Regions from separate parts of the Homo sapiens genome. Here regions 2, 3 and 4 are each linked to region 1. The links are contacts of gene promoters, found by promoter capture Hi-C in blood cells and fetal thymus (Javierre and others, 2016). All regions are on one chromosome and are shown on one strand. Each heading gives the region's core, a stretch centred on a gene start or on the middle of the fragment in contact. The rest is flanking DNA. Distances are from core to core; before and after follow the strand shown.

Region 1 (3,315 bases), core at 257-2,756:
TCCCCATCTTTTCCCAACAGTCCAAGACTTACCCATCTTTCAAGACCAGGCCCAATCTTCCCCTCCTGCATGAGCCTGAAGATAGCCCTCCCTTGAATTCGAAACGATAATGATCAGTCATCTGACTGTCAATCATATACTCCCAGTTATCTTTACTATCGCCCAAATTGCATCCATTTAAAATACTACTTATCTGTGGGTGTCTATTTTCTCAACCGAACCGCAAACTCCTTGAAGAAAAGGGCCGTGCCTCATGTTTTGCGTTGCCTGACTGCAACACAATCAGTGTTCTTTGAAGAGGGCTTCCAAGAACACTGAATTTGATGTCATGTTTTGGCAACAGCTCACACATACACAAGAAATGCGCAGCTTAATACGATAGCCACTATGGGACCAGCGAGCACTTGAAAGGTGGCTGGTGCGGACTGAGGTGTGCTGTTAAGTGTAAGACACACGACAAATCTGAAAGGCTTTGCATGAAAAAAAAAATTTCAAATATCTTACCAATAATTTAATATTGATTATATGTTGTAATAACATTTTGGATATCCTGGGTTAAATCAAATATATTAAAATTAATTTAACCTGTTTTATTATTTTAAAGTGGTTACCAGAACATGTACAATTACATATGTGGTTTGCTTTCTATTTCTGCCCACCAGAATTGGTGGGAGGAATGGAAAGCTGCCCTTGGGGGTCTTTATTCATCCAATCAGAGCTATTCTCTGAGCACTCCTTAGGCACTTGTTAATGCAGTAAGACATTTAAAAAGATCCCTTGGGGCTCCCGCCTGTGATCCCAGTACTTAGGGAGGCCTCCGCGGGCAGACCGCTGGAGCTCACGAGTTCGAGATCAGCCCGGGCAACAGAGGGAGAACCCCGCCCCCTCCACCTCCAAAAAAAAAAAAAAATTTCCCTGGGGGACAGACACCCCAAGGCCCTCAGACGGTTGCATCTCTCTGGTGCCAGTCGCCAGGATGTGGCCATTCCGCGAACCGGCGCGGGTGGTCAAAACGCAGAGGCCTGCGGTGCCCAGCGCCGCCTGGAGGAGACAGCAGGAGGGAGAGACAGCCAGGCAGCCCGGGGTGCGAGGGAGAGGCAGCGGCCTAGGCAGGCGGTCCCTGCGCAGGCCCCGGCCCAGAGCCGGCGGCGACGGAGGCCGCGGGGCGCAGGCGGGCAGGGGCCTGGCTGAAGGGGCACGCGCGTTCCGGGGTGAAGAGCGCAGGGGTGCCGGGCCGCGCCAGCGAGCGCACGTGCGCTGCCATGGCAACAGTGTCCCCTCCGCCCGCAGCCGCGGCGCCGGGAAGGACGCCCTCCCCGAACTCTGAACCCGGCCCCTCACCTCTCCCCGCCGCGTCCGCAGCCCTGAGAGGCCGCCCGGCTGCATCCTGAGACCCCGCCCCGACCCTCGCGCGCCCCCACTCCTGCCCCCTCTCCAGGCTCGGGGTCGTCCCTACTCCTCACCTGGCCTTGCTGCTCTCAGCGCCCACTGCTCCTAGGCGCGGACAGGCCCCGCCCCGCCCGCCGCGCGCGCTGAGGCAGCCGCTCGCCCGCTGATTGGCCGGCCCGCGGCCTGGCTACCGCTCCGCCCACGATCTGCGCCTGAAGGCCGCTGATTGGGTATCTGGGAGCCGCTCCTCCCCTCTGATTGATCGCTGTTGGCGGCTTGCCCTGTTGTCGGGCTCGAGTCCCCCGATTGGCCCTGTTGAGGCCACGGTCATCTCCGATTGGTACAGCTCCGAGACCCCGAGTCCTGATTGGAGGTCGAAGACAGTGCGTGCTGCTCGGCCCCACTCATCCAGTCACAAAGGGCTGGGGCGGTCGCCGCGCTCGCGTGTTTGCGGAGTGCGCCTGGAGGGGGCGCTGGAGTATGTGTGTGCCGGGGCGGGGTGGCTTCCGGGCACGAGTTGCTGACAGCGCCTCGCGGTTGATAAATCCTGAGGGCGGCGGCTACCCTGCACTCCATCGGTGCCTTTGGGAAGCGCCGCCTTCTCTGTTGTACCCGGCCGTGGGTCAGGTCGGCGCGGCTGGCGGTGGAGTCTCGGACACCGAGCCCTGGACCCCGACTCTGGAAGCCCCCAGCCCCACTGGGCCGCGGCAGGGCGCCCACCCTCCACAATCTCAGTTCCCAGCCGGGGAGTGAGGGGCTGGGCGGGTCTCTCCACCGCTTTGGAGACCTCAGGACTTGGATACGCTTTTGAGTGGTCCCAGTCGTCCTGATCCACGAAGGCGTGGAGTGGAAGTCAGGACCAGGGGTCGCCCCAGTGACGCAGGAAGTCAAGCCCAGATGCGGTGAGGCGTCGCCAGCCTTGGACCCAGCAGTGGGCGCTGGTGACAGTGGCGACCTCGCCGATGAGAGGTTCGCCCTCCCTAGCATTAGTTGTCACTTTGGTGAAATGGAGCGTGGGTGGCAGCTCCTCCACACACAAGCCCTTTGCTGAGGTGGTGCGGGGGGTTCTCTCCACGCTTGCTAAGGGCAGGTAGTTGGCTGACTTTGAACTATGAAGAAAAGCCAGAAACAAAATGGCAGAATGGTATGACTCTGGGTGGGCTTAGGGACGCTGGTGCCAGAGGACTTGGCTTGAACCCGCTCCAACACTTACAACCTGAGTGACCGTGAGAAAGAACTGTAACTCCTCTAAACTTCAAGTTCCTCACTTCTCAAATAAGAACGTGAATAGTACCTCCCTCCTAGAGTTGTGAGGATTGAGTTAGAAAATGCTAGCAATTGTTATGCCCTAAGGAACAGCACAAGATACAATAACACGTGATAATGTGTGTCGAAGGTGCAGAAATGCAGTCGCTGCCGTGAGAATTTCTCATTCATTCACTGAATTAACATTTGCCGAAAACCCCCACGTATCGACCTGTGCTGGATGCTGGAGATGCTGCAATGACTGCTGTCACAGGCATTGTCCCTGTGGTTACAGGGCCCAGCAGGAAAGACAAATGAGAAGCAAGGGATTGCAATGCAGTGTGATGAATAAGGAACGCATAGGGGGTGGGAGGAGTGCTGTAGAGATGGCTGACCTAGAGTCAGGGAAGACCCTCTACCTTGAAACCTGAAAATGAGAAAGGATCCCTCAAATGCAGGGATAGATGGACAGAGAAAAAAGTACATAAGGAAGGCTCTGCAGATGAGCAAGTTAAGTATAGCTGAGCTGGAATGGTAGGAAGAGCGCAGGGAGATCAGGCTGGAAAGGTAAGTAGGGAGCCTAGTGGTTGTGAACCTTGGAAATGTTAATATTTATAAAACACTGTGTGCCATACACTGTGTTTTATAATTTGTAAGTACCATTCCATAAATATTTAGTGA
Region 2 (3,315 bases), core at 266-2,765, 620 kb after region 1:
ATTTCAGAAAGGATTTTAGATAAGCAGTGGACATATGGAGAGCAGACGACTCAAGAAAAAACATGTGAGAAAAAGGAAAAATATGACCAGTTTTCCCTTACAGGCATTTCAGCATTTTCTTGCTAAACAGGCATTCTCCAGGGAAACAGCAGATGTTCAAGGGACTAAGGTAAAGAAGTTCAGGGACCTCTACAGTCCCTGAAAATATCACGTGGATCCTTGCTCTGTGAACTGTTCACTGAATGTGCCCAAAGCTGTCCCTTACTGACCCCACTTGGGGATGCTGTGTTTGATATGATGAGGTCTCTAACAGAGGATGTCCTTCTTGCTTCCCGTTTCCATGTAGATGGTAAGATCCAGTCCCTGTTCTAAAGTAAGCCCCAAATTCCGTTTCCTCATCTTGTGATCCCTGATATTCACAGTTGAACTAAATAAAAAGGCTGACTGGAGCAAAGGGATTCGATCTGGGATGCTTACCTGCTCCAATCTTTCAATGAGCTCTGCAGGAGTTAGGACCACTTCCTCACTACCCCCATCAGAGTCCTGTCCCAGGAAATCCACTTCTTCGGTCATCTTCTCTGAAACCAGGAACCTAATGAGAGGGAAAGAACCAATACTCTGCAATGCGTTTTCTAATTATCTGCAAGAACAGACATCTATCTGGAGAAAGGAAAGGTTTATTGAGGTTTCCTGGGGTTGTAGAGGCCCTTTAGCAAGTGGTGAGAGAACGCAGGGACTCTAGTTTTCCAGTGTCTGCCTCTTCCTCCAAGGCTTAGGTCAGGTATCCGTTTCTCAAACAAGCCTCCCCCTTACTTCTGTCCACCAAGAGCTGAGCACCCATCACACCATACAATCACTATTCATTTCTTTGACTTCCCAGTAGAGGTCTTGTTCCTCAGGGACGGGGTTCGTTTTAGTTCAAATACGAATCGCGCCTCTGCTCAGTGCCTGGCACTAAGCACTGGGGACGCAATGACGTGGGAAGCCCCTGCGCTCAGCACAGCGCTTGACTCCTAGCAAGCACTTAACATTATTAGGAGCTGGCCGGGCTCACGCCTGTAATCCCAGCACTTTGGGAAGCCGAGGCAGGAAGATACCTTGAGCCCAGGAGTTCGAGACCAGCCTGGGCAACATAGGGAGATCCTGTCTCTATAAAAACAAAAATTGTTAGGAAGATTAATCAATGCTAATTTCCCAGAGCCACAAGGGCCGGCGACATTAGACCAGTCGGCGATCCCAAAGGCCTAAGGAGGTGGATGGCGGGGACAAAGAAAGTCCCTGGGGTCGCAAGGAAACTGCGAACATCCCCCTCCCCTCCTCCCTCTCAGTGCCACCCACACAGGCCTGCCCTAGCCACAGAGGTCCCATTCGACGCTCACTCGGGGACCTGGGAGACAGCGAGGCACTCCACAGCAGCCGGCGGTAAGGACGGGGCGTTCGTGGGGACGCAGTCGGGGCACCAGGAAGCGGGAAGACAGAGGAACAAACTGCTCAAGGACTTGCCGGGACCAACTCAACCCTGCAACTTCTCAGCTCCCGCGCTACTCTCGCAAAGTTTCCGCCCAGGCACGACGTCATCGCGCAAGGGCGACGCTGACCAATCAAGGCCCGGGGGGAAGAGCGGGGCGGTCTCCTTGGGCCCGCCCACCCGGCGGGCGGGGACTGTCTTCGCGGCGGCCTGCAGTCCCAGCAACCCAAGGACTTGAGGCGGCGGGAGGCTGGTCCGGGTTGGCCCCGCCCACCTGGGGGCCGGCCGCTCCGCTGTGCGGTCCGGGTTGCACTACCCAAGAGCGTCGGGAGGGGGCGCCCGCCACCGCGGCCAAGGGGAGCGGCGGTGTCCGCCCCGGGGGGTCCCACCCAGAAGTATGCTGTTGAAAGCAGGCCGCTGCAGCCTCCTGGGCCGTCTCCACCCACAGCTCTCGTGGCTCTTTGGGTTCCTCCGTCTTTGCGGGGTTTCACCTGTGGTCAGTGTGGTCATTGCCTTCAGAATCTCCAGTATATTCCTTTTCATCTTTCTTGAGACAGGGTCTCGTTCTGGTGCCCAGGCTGGAGTGCAGTGGCACCACCACAGCTCACTGCAACCTCCGCCTCCCGGGCTCCAGCGATCCTCCCACCTCAGCCTCCGGAGTAGCTGGGACCACAGGCCAGCGCCACCACGCCCAGTTATTTTTTAATTAAAAAAAAAAAAAAAAAGAACTGTGGCGGGGTTGGGGGTGGGGAGGTTCTCCCTATGATGGCCAGGCTGGTCTCGAACTCAAGGATCCAAGCAATCCTCCCACCTCGGCCTCACAAAGTGGGTACTGGTTCTTGAAGCCTGGGATCGGACGACCAGCAGAAGCATCGCCTGGGAATCCGTGAAAATGCAGGTTCTCAGGCCCCACCCTGGCCCACCGAATCAGAAACTGGGGGTATTTCACCAGACCCAGGCCCTCCCGGTGACCCTGACACAGCTGAGGTTTGAGAATCACTGCTTTGGGGCCGGGCGCGGTGGCTCACGCCTGTAATCCCAGCACTTTGGGAGGCCGAGGTGGGCGGATCACGAGGTCAGGAGATCGAGACCATCCTGGCTAACATGGTGAAACCCCGTCTCTACTAAAAATACAAAAAAATTAGCCGGGCGTGGTGGCGGGCGCCTGTAGTCCCAGCTACTCGGGAGGCTGAGGCGGGAGAATGGCGTGAACCCGGGAGGCGGAGCCTGCAGTGAGCCAAGATGGCGTCACTGCACTCCAGCCTGGGAGACAGAGCCAGACTCCATCTCAAAAAAAAGAAAAAAAAAGAAAAAAGAAAAGAGAATCACTGCTTTGGGGCAATGCTTTCAACTCACCTTCTGGAGGGGAAAAGCACAAAAACCCATGTCTGTATATGTATATATTTTTTCCATCTTTGTGTGATCCAGTTTTTCTTCTCTGAGTTGCTGATTCTTTTCTCTTTGCTGTCCTTTGTTTTCTGTGCAAAGCGTTGCTTCTGGCTTCCCTAAAAGTATCTCTTCTCCATCAATCTGAGGGCTCTTTGCAAAGCTGCCCTATGATGTCATATTGATTGACTAGTAAAATGATTGGCTAATATAGTATGATCGTACCTGCCTGATTACAATCCTGTTATGAAAATGACAATAGAATAAGCCGAGTGAGAGAGTAGGCATCTTTACAAAGCGCTGTGTAAGCTGGGGCATATCAGCACGGGATTCCCAAAAGGAAGGGACATTTGAGCTGTGTCTTATGAAATGAATTTTGTGAGTGGCAAATAGGTGGTTATTTCAAGGTCTGTTTCAACGGTTTGGTAATCCAGTGGTTTTTGGTTGTGGCAGAGTGTGTT
Region 3 (3,315 bases), core at 505-3,004, 570 kb after region 1:
AGTCACTGAACTTCTCTGGACCTCCAAGGGCTCAGAAAAAAATGAAAACATTGAACAGGACGTTCCGAATGTTCTCATCCAGATCTGAAACACTTTTTTTCTTTTCTTTTTTTTTTTGACACGAGTCTCGCTCTGTCGCCCAGGCTGGAGTGCAGCGGCGCAATCTTGGCTCACTGCAACCTCTGCCTCCTGGGTTCAAGCGATTCTCCGGCCTCAGCCTCCCGAGTAGCTGGGAATACAAGTACTTGCCACCACGTCCGGCTAATTTTTGTATTTTTAGTATATGCAGGGTTTCACCATGTTGGCCAGGCTGGTCTTGAACTCCTGACTTTAGGTGATCCGCCCGCCTCGGCCTCCCAAAGTGCTGGGATTACCGGCGTGAGTCACCACGCCCGGCCATACTTTTTCTTTTAACCTGTTCTATCATGTTAAGATACCTTTTGCTGTGCTCTTTCTTCAACTCTACTGTGTTTCTTAGCTGAAGACCTCATGAGTAGGCTGTGTTCCAAAACAAAAAGCACCTTATGACTTGGTATGGTGGTTTTCATTATGGAACTGAAGCTACTTTTGACAGACTCATCTTGCATCAAGTTCTCCCTGAGACATACGGGAGGGGAAATGGGTGGGGTGTGTATGGCACAGGAATAGCCACAGTTAAGTGGCTGAGGAGGCCAGAACAAGTACATGCTGGTTCCCTATTCCATCTATTTCCCTGTGTCTGAAATTCTCCAAAATACAAAGTTAAAAAAGAAAAGAAAAGCACATCTCTTTCAAAGAGAGAAGTATATTTGATTGGCATTATTACAGGATTTTGTCTGGAGACTTTGGTATGGTATAACTGCTCTTCACACCATTTCCCTTGGATTGAGATAGAATCTACAAGACATGAAACTAAGGAGAGCTCCTCAAAGTTCAGCCAAAATTAAGGAAAATGAACCAAAAACAAAATTCCTCAAATGACCTCAAGGTTATCCATGAGAAGATCCATGGTAATACTTGGCAGAGGATGGAACTTATTTCCATCGTGCTACACCGTATGTCTCCTATAAGCTATTTTCTGCAACTTCTGAACAGCTAAACTTCAGCCCTCTGTGACATGGAAAGCGAGGAAATAAACAAGCCCCACTGGGAGAAGGATGCCTCAGAGGGTGCTGAAATAAAAAAGGAAAGGCAAGGGATTTCAGGAGTTAAGAAATCCTAAAGAAAAATGGGAGCATGCATTTGGAGAAGGAGAGGGTAAAGACATGCATCTTACGGCAGCCAGAGAACACAGGAAGGGGAATGACAGGGGAAGGCGCTTCCTGGTGCTCCAACGCCCAGCAGCCCTCGCCACCCACATCCCCGGACTCCCGGGGCGGGAGGGCTGCGCACACCTGGGACTTGGGGGAGGCGAGGGGCTCCGAGGAGCCGGGCTCGGAGAGCAGGCGAGCGGAGAGGCGGGCGGCCGGGGTTCGGGGCGGGCGCGGACCGTTCCATCCCGGACGGGGGGCACCCGCTCCACCCGCCGGGGATCCCCGGGGCGCGGCGATGGTGCCTCCTGACGCCGGCGCAGCGTCGCCGGGGCGTCCCAGACCGCAGGCCCCGCGCGGCCGCCCAAGCCCGGCTCCCACGTCCCGCTCTCGGCTCCCCGGAGGTCGGAGACTTTGAGGTAAGGGGCCAGCTCCCTCCTACTCACCGACCGCGAGGCTAGGCAGCTCCAAATCCCGCGGCGACCGCTCCCTCCCGCCCTTGCCGCCGCCGCGGGCCCAAGCTGCGTCAGGACGTGCGCGCGCCCGCCTTTGTCTGCGCCGCCCAACGTGACCCTGCGCCCACCGCCCCGCACGCTCCCGTCGGGCGCGCGCGGGCCGGCAGGGCGGGGGCCTAGGGAGAGGCGGGTGCCGCGTGGACCGGTCGCGGGTTGGGCGACCCGCGGAGTCGCCCTCTGGCGGACTAGGGGGCACTGCCGGGGGCGGGGCGGGGCAGGAGCAGGAGAGGCCGGGCCCTGGCTGTCCCTCCGCTGGCGCGTCCCTCTCAGAAAGCGGAGCGCTTCCCTGCGTTAGGACCCGATACTGGCTCCCTCCCCGGAGGTTCGCTTGTGTGTTCCGGAGAGGGTGAAATCAGGCTGGCACCGCGGGAAGAGGCTAGAGTCACTAAATCACCTTGTCCTCTTGAGGCTGCTGTCCGTATGCAGCGACATTCTGCCCGTTAGAGGACTCAGCTCAGGGCCTGGTACGCTCAAGATCTGTTAGCTACCAGCACCATCACCACGACCACCGTCATCACCAGCAGTATCCCTCAGCCTCGTCTACCTTGCTCGTCAAGCAGGGTGCTCCAGGAGTGGGTGTAGGCCACTTTCGCCCTGCCTGGCAGATGCAACTTTCCAACTTCCACCTCCACTTGGACCTGCTCTCTCTACTCAAGTCTAGCTGGTGGCTGCTGGAGTTTGCGTGTGTGTTTCTTACTATATCTTCTGACTTCGGACGCCTAACCCAAGCTTATTATCTCCCCTAAAATGGGACCTCCTTAAAATATATATTACCTTTCTTTTTCCTGTTCTTAAAAGACAGTTTGCCTTTAGTGCCAAGCCCTCTCCGCCGGTTTACGCTGTACACGGCTGTCAGATTGTCATTCCGTGCTAAATGCATAATCTGATAATGAAATCTTTAAAGTCCACATTCTTAGACCTCAAAATCTCTGTAAGAATAAAGGGCAGAGTATGGTAGTTCACGCCAGTAATCCCAGCGTTTTGGGAGGCCAAAGCAGGAGGATCGCTTGAGGCCAGGAGTTTGAGACTAGCCGGGGCAACGTAACGAGACCCCCACTTCTACAAAAATTTTGAAAATTAAAAAAAAATGGTGGGGGGAGCGGGGCGCGGGTAGCTCACGCCTGTAATCCCAGCACTTTGGGAGGCAGAGGCGGACAGATCACTTAAGGCCAGGAGTTTGAGACCAGCCTGGCCAACATGGTGAAACCCCGTCTCTACTAAAAATACAAAATTTAGCCGGGGGTGATGGCACGCACCTGTAATCCCAGCTACTCGGGAGGCTGAGACAGGAGAATTGCATGAACCCAGGAGGCAGATGTTGCAGTGAACTGAGATTGTGGCACTATACTCCAGCCTGTGTGACAGAGCGAGACCCAAACTCAAAAAAAAAAAAAAAAAAAAGAATAACCACTTAGCTCCAAAACACTGGACTACTTATCTCCACCAAATATAACTAAATGTTACCCATTTGGAACTGATCACGTATTTATTAACTCAATCACTTATCCATTCATTGAGCCCTTGTTACTCGCCCAGCTTTTTTGGGGATCCCAATTCAAGATTGAGTAATG
Region 4 (3,315 bases), core at 337-2,836, 530 kb before region 1:
ACATTTTGTTTATCCATTTATCTGTAGATGGACATGTGGGTTGCTTCCATCTTTTGGCTATTGAATAATGCTGCAATGGGTGACTTGGTTTGGATGTTCTGTCCCCTCCAAATCTCATGTTGAAAAGTGACCTCCAGTGTTGAAGGTGGGGCTTGGTGGGAGGTATTTGGGACACGGAGGCAGGTCCCTTGTGAATGGCTTGGTGCTGTCCTCACAGTAATGAGTGAGTTCACGCTCTGTGAATTCAGACAAAATCTGGTAATTTAAAAGCGCTGGCACCTCCTCCTTCTCCCTAGCTCCCTCTGTCACCATGAGAGACGCTGCCCCTTCTTCCCTTTCCTCCCTGATTGGAAGCTTCCTGAAGCTGCCCCAGAAGCAGATGGGGCACTGTGCTTCCTGTACAGCCCACAGAACTGTGAGCCAAATACATTTTTTTTCATAAATTACCCAGTCTCAGCATTCCCTTATAGCAATACAAAACAGACTGACGATGGACATATAAAACCTCTTTTGATTATTTTCTATATTCAGAAGGGGAACGGCTGGACCATATCCCATAGTAATTCTATTCTTAATGTTTTCAGGAACCACCATAATGTTTTCCACAGCGGCCGCACCATTTCACATATCCACCAGAGGCCCACAAGAGTTCCAGTTTCTCCACATCCTCACCAACACATTATTATTATTATTATTATTATTATTTTGACAGTAGCCTTCCTAGGCCATGGGGCTTTTAAGCTGTATGATTAAGGAAATTTGTGCAAATGCAGTTTTTAAAACTCTCTTGGCCAGGTGCGGTGGCTCATGCCTGTAATCCCAGCACTTTGGGAGGCCGAGGCGGGCAGATCACCTGAGGTCGAGTTCCAGACCAGCCTGACCAACATGGTGAAACCCTGTCTCTACTAAAAATACAAAAATTAGCCAGGTGTGGTGGCAGGCGCCTGTAATCCTAGCTACTTAGGAGACTGAGACAGGAGAATCGCTTGAACCTGGGAGGCAGAGCTTGCAGTGAGTCGAGATCGTGCCATTCCCATTGCACTGCAGCCTGGGCGACAGAGTGAAACTCCATCTCAAAAAAATAAATAAATAATAAATAAATAAATAAAACTCTTTTAATGGGAGCTGAGTGGGGGAGAGGAGAAAAATGCACTTGTAAACAGAAACCTGACCTATGCTTTGAGGAGATTTCTTTCACCCTCCAGCTTTTCTGCACTCTCCTTTTTCACTTTTTCTTCTTTTATTCAGCTGACATATCTGTGCCTTCCTCGTTTGCTCTTATCCAATCCTCCATCATATAGAACAATCATCTTACCCATGTGGCAAGCTGTTTCCTTCTTAAAACTACCAGGATCTTTCTTGAGCCAAGAACCAGAATGAACTACATTCTCAATCAGGTTTTAAGGGTAGACCTCTAGGTGAGTTCTTGGGTGCTTCTGAAATCTCACCCATCATTTTCCAAAATGACAGAGTAAATGTACCTTGGTTGAAGGAATGTGTAAAGCCACTGTTGAGATGCTATAAAGAAATACCCGAGACTGGGTGATTTATAGAGAAAAGAGGTTTAATTTGCTCAGGGTTCTGCGGGTTGTACAAGCATGGCTCCAGCATCTGTTCAGCTTCCTATAAGGCCTCAGGGGGCTTTTACTCCAAGAAGGAGGTGAAGCAGGAGCTGGTATCCCACATGGCAGAGGGGGGGCAAGAGAGCGAGTGGGGAGAGGCCACGCACTTTTTATTTTTTTTGAGACGGAGTCTCACTCTGTTGCCCAGGCTGGAGTGCAGCAGCATGATCTCGGCTCACTGCAACCTCTGCCTCTTGGATTCAAGCAGTTGTCTACCTCAGCCTCCTAAGTAACTGGGATTACAGGCTCGCGCCACCATGCCCGGCTAATTTTTGTATTTTTAGTAGAGACAGGGTTTCACAATGTTAGCCAGGCTGGTCTTGAACTCCTGACCTCGTGATCTGCCTGCCTCAGCCTCCCAGAGTGCTGGGATTACAGGCGTGAGCCACCGCGCCCGGCCGGGGCCACACGCTTTTAAACAACCAGATCTCACAGGAACTCACTCACTATTGCAAGGACAGCACCAAGGGGAAGGTGCTAAACCATTCATGAGAAATCCACCCCCATGATCCAATCACCTCCCAGCAGGCCCCACAGCATGAAAACTGGGTGGGGACAAATATCCAAATGATGTCAAGGAGCAATAAGGCATAATAATATGGGAATCCAAAGTGTTGGGTTTTTGTTTTTGTTTTTGCGACTGCTGAGGACTATTGGAATACTTTGTCTTATCCAAATAGCTGTTGTTTGAGGCTGGGCACGGTAGTTCACACCTGTAATCCCAGCACTTTGGGAGGCCGAGGCAGGTGGATCACTTGAGGTCAAGAGTTCAAGACCGGCCTAGTCAACATGGTGAAACCCCATCTCTACTGAAAATACAAAAAATTAGCCTGGCATGGTGTGCATGCCTGTAATCCCAGCTACTCAGGAGGCTGAGGCAGGAAAATCGCTTGAACCCAGGAGGCAGAGTTGGCAGTGAGCCAAGATTGCACCACGGCACTCCAGCCAGAGTGACAGAGGGAGATTCTGTCTCAAAAAACAAAAACAAAGACAAAACCCCACATAGCTGTTGTTTGAGTGCAATTACGTTGTTTGGATGCAATTATGACTTAAAGTTTTTTTCTGACATAAAAGTTTTTTCTTTGTTTTTGTGTTTTAAGTGTTCATTTGCTGCTAGCATAAACTTCAGCCCTCTTTTGTTTGGTCATTACACCCCTAACCTGGCAGGGGCCTATAAGCTGCACAAATTAAGCTTCTAGTTAGTGAGGTGCATGAGCCTCCCCTTAGCACAGTTCTGTAAATCATAGAATTTTATTATTTTATTTCAGACAGGGCTGAGCACGCCACAGCCTTGACATCCCAGGTTCAAGCAGTCCTCCCACCTCAGTCTCCTTAGTAGGTGAGACTACAAGTGTGCACCACAACACCTGCTAATTTTTACATTTTTTTATAGAGATGGGGGTCTCACTCTGTTGGCCAGGCTGGTCTCAAACTCCTGAGCTCAAGTGATCCTCCTGCCTCAGCCTCCCAAAGTGCTGGGATTACCGGCATAAACCACTGCACCTGGATTGAAAATCTCTTAAAACTTTTGTTGAATGAGAATGAGGCAAATCTAAGCCTGCTATACATCTACTTAGGATTTTAGTCACCTTTTTAAGGTGTGTGGGTATCTCTTTATTGCTAAGGGTTACCTAAAAGAAAGTCATTCTGATATTATAACTACTCTGTTCTGAGTCCATTCCAAGAACAATGT

What was found. Contacts are between HindIII fragments. The CHiCAGO score rates a contact against its expected background, and 5 or more counts as called.
Region 2: a contact is called between the fragment with the promoter of GINS4 here and the fragment with the promoter of AP3M2 in region 1, in 2 of 17 cell types (monocytes and neutrophils). The highest score is 5.7, in monocytes.
Region 3: a contact is called between the fragment with the promoter of GPAT4 here and the fragment with the promoter of AP3M2 in region 1, in 1 of 17 cell types (naive B cells). The highest score is 5.6, in naive B cells.
Region 4: a fragment that was not itself captured here is called in contact with the fragment with the promoter of AP3M2 in region 1 in 1 of 17 cell types (megakaryocytes); the score reaches 5.7 in megakaryocytes.

The regions. Positions count from the first base shown.
Region 1 is chr8:42,151,254-42,154,568 of GRCh38, reverse strand. AP3M2 (adaptor related protein complex 3 subunit mu 2) reads right to left here and starts at 1,506. Exons shown (of 9, transcript NM_006803.4): 1 at 1,464-1,506. RefSeq lists a silencer at 991-1,600 and an enhancer at 2,431-2,550. The HindIII fragment of the contact is 5,843 bases long and covers 1-3,315 here.
Region 2 is chr8:41,527,461-41,530,775 of GRCh38, reverse strand. It overlaps GINS4 (GINS complex subunit 4), which reads right to left and starts at 1,515. Exons shown (of 8, transcript NM_032336.3): 1 at 1,380-1,515; 2 at 478-592. The coding sequence starts at 573. RefSeq lists a silencer at 1,540-1,969. The HindIII fragment of the contact is 13,395 bases long and covers 1-3,315 here.
Region 3 is chr8:41,576,639-41,579,953 of GRCh38, reverse strand. GPAT4 (glycerol-3-phosphate acyltransferase 4) reads right to left here and starts at 1,754. Exons shown (of 13, transcript NM_178819.4): 1 at 1,676-1,754. GPAT4-AS1 (GPAT4 and GINS4 antisense RNA 1) reads left to right here and starts at 1,586. Exons shown (of 3, transcript NR_125824.1): 1 at 1,586-1,648. RefSeq lists silencers at 1,248-1,387, 1,408-2,027. The HindIII fragment of the contact is 4,489 bases long and covers 1-2,475 here.
Region 4 is chr8:42,678,836-42,682,150 of GRCh38, reverse strand. No RefSeq gene overlaps it. Among named protein-coding and RNA genes, the nearest start is that of CHRNB3, 17 kb to the left of the region's middle. The HindIII fragment of the contact is 2,460 bases long and covers 357-2,816 here.